2 separate regions of the Homo sapiens genome follow, and region 2 is linked to region 1. Evidence: promoter capture Hi-C in human tissues and cell types (Jung and others, 2019). All regions are on one chromosome and are shown on one strand. Each heading gives the region's core, a stretch centred on a gene start or on the middle of the fragment in contact. The rest is flanking DNA. Distances are from core to core; before and after follow the strand shown.

What was found. The method cuts DNA at HindIII sites, captures the fragments that hold promoters and counts their contacts. A contact is called where the count stands out against the background at its distance.
Region 2: a contact is called between a fragment that was not itself captured here and the fragment with the promoter of FBXW12 in region 1, in 7 of the 25 tissues and cell types used here (IMR-90 fibroblasts, aorta, heart left ventricle and 4 more).

The regions. Positions count from the first base shown.
Region 1 is chr3:48,370,023-48,373,468 of GRCh38, reverse strand. It overlaps FBXW12 (F-box and WD repeat domain containing 12), which reads right to left and starts at 1,250. Exons shown (of 11, transcript NM_207102.2): 1 at 1,149-1,250; 2 at 612-785; 3 at 124-161. The coding sequence starts at 701. The HindIII fragment of the contact is 16,322 bases long and covers 1-3,446 here.
Region 2 is chr3:48,457,708-48,460,407 of GRCh38, reverse strand. ATRIP (ATR interacting protein) reads right to left here. Exons shown (of 13, transcript NM_130384.3): 6 at 954-1,049; 7 at 492-621; 8 at 1-298. ATRIP-TREX1 (ATRIP-TREX1 readthrough) reads right to left here. Exons shown (of 15, transcript NR_153405.1): 6 at 954-1,049; 7 at 492-621; 8 at 1-298. Among named protein-coding and RNA genes, the nearest start is that of TREX1, 7.2 kb to the left of the region's middle. The HindIII fragment of the contact is 6,156 bases long and covers 1-2,700 here.

The DNA.
Region 1 (3,446 bases), core at 1-2,500:
TACTCACACTAACTTTCCTGTGTATATCTCACAACACAGCCACACAGGCCTTGGGACACAGCATGGGTGCGCAGTCAGATGATCTCCTCTCCCCTTCCCTCCTTGCCCTTTCCCTTCCCTTACCTCCACAGGTAATCACTGTCTGCAATCCTATTCCAATGCTATGGGAGAGAAAGGAAGAGACAAGCAGGCAATCAGTTACATCAGAGAGCAAGGGTAATCCTCTGCTATTATTTGTTCTGGGAGCTGGGCCCGCACAGGTTAATCAGATGGGATTCCAGCTCTCAAAGCACTCTCAGTGTGGGGAGATAAGGAAATGGTAACAACAGAGACCTATCACTGCTAATACAGGCACTGGGTATTCCCATGAATTCACAGGAAGAAGTGTTGATTTCCTAGGGCTTGAAATGGGAGCCTCAAGGACTGTTTAGTCAGCACAACTCCTGGATATCAGCTTGTCCTTTTCGTTTAACAGAATATGAGGCCCTCAGTATGAAGAATGCTAACCCCCAAAGCCTCAGTGTAACCCTCTGCTATTCTGCAAAGTGGTGCTCAAACTGGTCGAGAGAAGCAGCGGGCTTGGGGGGCAGTGGGAGGTGGAAGGCCTTTACCTTGTTCACCTGGGAAACCTGCAGCAAGCCGAACAGGTCCAGGAAAGAGAAGATTCGCTTCAAAGCTAAGTCAGGCAATCGGATCTCCATTTCATGCGGCCTGAACCCACATCCACTTTCCTTTCTCCTCTCCGGGCTGCTCTGAATTTATAGGCTTTGCCAAAGTCTGCAGCACTTGTAAAGATTTTCACCCATGCCCATCTGTGTGCGGTAGAAACAAGCTGCAGGTGTGCAGACTCCCGGGCTGACCTCCACCCCGGCCTCTCCCCTGGGGCCTGATCCACACAGCTGGCAGGCATCCCTACCTAAACCCACTTGTTAGTGCTGTTCATTGTTTAGAGGAGCTCAGCAACACCTGTGCGCTGTGAGCTGGAGGTGCAGAACCTGGGGCAGCCCCAGTTGCAGATGAAGTTGTCAGAACCCTTTAGGAAATGTCACCGAGTGCACTCACTTTGATCAGATCTGAGTGTCTCTATGACTCTATTTAAGTTCCAAACTCCTGGAATTGGAGTCTGCTTGCCCTGTGTCTGTGCCTACCTTGGGATCTTGAATCTGGTGAGTGGGGCTCATCTCTCAGCGCCAGCATGGCCTCTGGGTTTCTACCTTCTCGCATTTAACTTTGCAGTGGAGGAGAAAGAACGTGCCAAGCTGGCTTCTCCACAGAGGTCCGCCCAAAGGGAGCAGGCCTTGTCTGGGATGGCTCTCCCAGCTGGTGGCTTTCCCTGGGATGTGACGCTTTCCCACAGTTACAGATCTCCCAAGAACCTGACAACTCATTCTGGGATTTTCTAAAGACCGTGTCATAGCCTGGGTGTTTGTGTCCTCTCAAAATTCCTACGTTGAAATTCTAACCCTTGGTGTGATTGGAGGTGGGGGGCCTTTGGGAGGTAAGTGGGTCACAGGCAGAGTCCTTATGATGGGACCAGTGACCTTATAAAAGAGACCCCAGAACGCTCTCTAGCCCTGTTCATATCATGCGAGGACATGAGAAGGTGTCAGCTGCAACCTGGAAGAAGGCCCACACCAGAACCTGACCGTGCTGACAGGTGACTCTTGGACTTCTCTCCTCCAAAATTGTGAGAAATAAATTTGTTTGTAAGCCACCCAGTCTATGGTACTTTGCTGCAGCATAAGACAGGGGTCCCTCTGTGAGGCTCAGTGGCCAACCCTTCTTAAAACTGCTGCCTCCAGGCAGACACACGGGAGTGGTTGTCGGGAGTCCCATTTATGATACAGTAGTAAGAGAGAGGAAAAATACAAATTGACATGGTGAGGAAATAAAAAGGAAAAGCAAAGACCAAGAAGCACCTAGAGGGGCGTGGGGAAAGGCGAGTCAAGGGGTGTGTGGAGAGGAGTGAGAAAAATACAAGGGTAAAAGATTTGTATTCCATAAATAGGAAATAATGCAGAGAGAGCCAGAGCCGTGGAAGGACACAGGAAGACAGAAAGCTTGGAACGGACTCTATTGTAGAGGAACAGAATTAATGCAAAGATATAGAAGGCTGAGAAATAAAACACTTTAAAATATGACAAGGGAAGAGAAGAAACAGTAAAATAAAGGATATTTTAAAAGTATTAAAGCACAAATATTATAAAATACACAGATAGGAAATATAACTGTAAGTGGACTGAGACAGAGTAGGAATAAAATGGAAAAGAGGACAGATGAGAAAGAGGCAAACATAAGGAAACTGAAGCAAATTGCCGAATGAGTGAATGAATGAATTTGAAATAGAGGAACAGAGGCCAGGCACAGTGGCTCATGCCCGTAATCCCAGCACTTGGGGAGGCCGAGGCGGGTGGATCACCAGGTCAGGAGTTTGAGACCAGCTTGGCCAACATAGTGAAACCCTGTCTCTACTAAAAATACAACAAATTAGCTGGGCGTGGTGGCGGGTGCCTGTAATCCCAGCTACTTGGGAGGCTGAGGCAGGAGAATTGCTTGAAGCTGGGAGGTGGAGGTTGCAGTGAGCTGAGATTGCGCTACTGCACTCCAGCCTGGGCGACAGTGCGAGACTCCATCTCAACAACAACAACAAAAAAAATAGAGGAACAGGAAGGTGTGTTGGGGGGTGGTGGTGGCGGGGTGCTACCAGAAAAGCGGCAGAGAAAGACACATTGCAACAATAGATGAAGACAAATCTAAATGTCACAAGAGTTAAGAGATGTAAAATTTGAGAGATGTGAAATGGTAACTGCGTAATAGTCTAAGCAAAAGATAAGATGCAGGTGAGAGAATGGTCCGGACATTGTCTAGGAGAAAGTAGATTAAAGCAGGCAGCTGGGGAAACCTGAGAAGAGGGATCCATAAGGAGTTGGGCAGCCTGAGAGTAGGACAGAGAGGGAGGGACGACACAGCATGGGAAGTAAAGGGGGCGTAGCAAGGGGAGAAGTAACAGCACACCTTTCATGGCGCCTTCTGCAGGCAAGGCACCCGTCTAAACAATTTACAGGGGCTCATCTATTTAATCCTCACAACGGCTAGATGAGGTAAGTCCTATTACTGGCCACCTTGCCAGGGTGCTCCGTGTTCTCTTAGATTCTGAATTTGTCTGGCATCCATCACAGGGCCAGTTGTATTCTCTGTATATTTTTAATTTTCTGTATTCTTGATGCTCTGGCATTTGTGATCTTGCTGACTGGGGAGAGACTCTCCTTCCCAGGCCTAGCCAGATAGCAAAGGAGAGTGCCTTTTATGCAAACGAACCAAGCTACAGCCCACACCCACAATCATCTCCTTTACCAAACTCTCACACAGCAAGTTAATATTCCTCCTGCCCTAAATCAACCCAGGGCCAGGTACCAGACAACTGGAGACGGCCCCTATGCCTCAAA
Region 2 (2,700 bases), core at 10-2,509, 87 kb before region 1:
TGTCGGTGAGTCCCCAGGTGCTCCGCTTCTCTTAGCAGCTGCCAAGTCCTGCAGGGCCTGGCAGTGTAAGCCGATGAAGAACTGTACAAGGGGGAGGAAATGCACGGCTCCAGGAAGCTGGCAGAGTGGGAAGGCCCTTCTGCCTCCCTCTGCTGGGTCTCCATCACGTGAGCACTCATTCCGGGCAACCAGATTCAGTCCAGTGAATGCCAGGTTCTGTGCTTCTCTCAGGGCTGAGAGGGAAAATGACCCATCATAAGAACCTGTGGTCCTGAGGCCTGACATTCCAGCCAAGGTACTGGCAACAAACACAAAGAAAAATAGATTAAGTGTGGGATGGAGATAAGGTCAAGAGCCCCAAACAGCCTGCCTGCCAAATTCTCCAGGCTGCCTGCCCTTCCCACAGACTTCTCAGGCTGGCCAGGGCCAGAAAGGAATTTGCTTCCAGGAAGCTCCTTCCCAAACAAGCTTTCCAGGAGTCTTATGCTTACCTGCCAAACCCTGGTGGCTGCAGGGGGGTGCCAGCAGGAGACTCAGAACTACTACTCAGGAGGTGGCAAAGGCTTAGGGATGACCCTGGGATCAAAGGCTGCTTCAGGAGCAGGTTTATCAAAATGGAACCTGCAGAAGACAAGATGACTCTAGAAGGTTCTGACATGGGAGATCTTTTCGGTGGCTTTCAGAAGGAAACAGTAAGGATTCTTTGGATGCCAACTGTCCTCTAGGCTGCCACTAAGCCCCAGGAAGATGCCTGTGGGTGCGGAAGGCTCTGGGACATACCTGCCCTTGGCCCTTTCCACTTTATAAAGTCTTCTGCTTAAGCCACATACTTTGACTTCCCTGGACTCTCTGAAGGACTGCCCGGGGCACCGGTTCTCAGAGGCCTGGGCAATTCTTCTGCATATTACTCAGAGCCATGCAGGCCCCTGCAGGAGAAGCAGGGATTCTGGTACCTTGAGTGTTTGATCTCTGTCTCCAGCTGTCAACAAAGCTTTTCTGGGCCTCTTCTTGTTTTATGGAGTCACCTCTCAGACTGTGGGGCTTACTATCTGAAATGTGATAAAATGTAAATCAAAACTTGAGCCCAGAAGCATGGGCATATTAGAAACTTTTACATGCAATGAGTTTAAAACACACGCTGTTCTACTTCTTCGAACTTGGAACAAACAAGAGCCAAAGCGGCTCAAGAGCCCTGCATCTTTTACCTTCCTTATGTAAAACAGGAACTCATACAAGGAAAGGAAAAGAAAATCAAGCTGTTTGCCTCACTCAAAATGAGGCAATTAGATAAAACAGTGACCACTAACATTGACATGGTGCTTGTTACGTGCTAGACAGTGTTTTAAGAGCTCTATACGCATCAGCCCATTTGTTCCTCAGTGACCCTACAAGGATTTATCATTAGGTCTGTTTTACATATAGGGAAACTGAGGCACAGAGACTAAAGGACTTGCCCAAATCATATAAGCCAGTTAACAGCATTACTGGGACTCACATCCAGGCTACTGGGCTCTACTGCCTGCTTGTAACACTACTGTACACTGCCCCTTTAGCTGCTAGATGCCAAAAATGTAAGTGGGCTACAGTTTCTCAGAAGTGTTATGATGGCCAAGGATTTGAAAGGTTGATGGTAAGAAGAGGGTCAATGTATCCGATTTATAAGATACACTGACATAGCAGTCTGAAAACCTACTGATGTTAGATTGTCTCTCTCTAAAAAACAGCAGATCCCCTCAATCTGGACTGAGTTATAAAAACTCAAAAGCTGGACTACAAAAGGAAAACAGAGGCTGGGCACGGTGGCTCATGCCTGTAATCCCAGCATTTTGGGAGGCTGAAGTGGGTGGATCACGAGGTCATGAGATTGAGACCATCCAGGCCAACATGGTGAAACCTGTCTCTACTAAAAATACAAAAATTAGCTGGGTGTGGTGGCGCATGCCTGTAGTCCCAGCTACTCGGGAGGCTGAGGCAGGAGAATCGCTTGAACATGGGAGGCAGAGGTTACAGTGAGCCGAGATCACGCCACTGCACTCCAGCCTGGTGACAGAGTGAGACTCCGCCTCAAAGAAAAAAAAAAAAAACAAGAAAAGAAAAACAGATTCCTGCATACTAGCTAGGTTTTTGGCATGGTCAATTGATGCTGTGATGGTTTAAAAATATGCCCACAAGCATGATGGCAGGTGCCTGTAATCCCAGCTATTCGGGAGTCTGAGGCAGGAGAATCACTTGAACCCGGGAGGCGGAAGTTGCAGTGAGCTGAGATCGTGCCATTGCACTCCAGCCTGGGTGACAGGGTGAGACTCCGCCTCAAAAAAAAAAAAAAAAAGGCCCACAAATGCTTTGACACAACTCCCCTTCAAAAGGTATAAGCTTGGGAGGAGGGGGGAGGGATAGCATTAGGAGATATACCTAATGCTAAATGACGAGTTAATGGGTGCAACACACCAACATGGCACATGTATACATACGTAACACACCTGCACGTTGTGCACATGTACCCTAAAATTTAAAGTATAATAATAAAATAAAAATAAAAAATAAAAATTAAAAAAAAGGTATAAGCTTGGTTTCTCCCCTTGAATGACGCCCAGACTCAGTGATTTGCTTCTAACAAATACAATGTGGCAGAGGGGATGCTGTGTGACTTCTGAGGCTAGGCCATAAATGGATAGCTTCTGCCTGGCTCGCTCTCTCTGG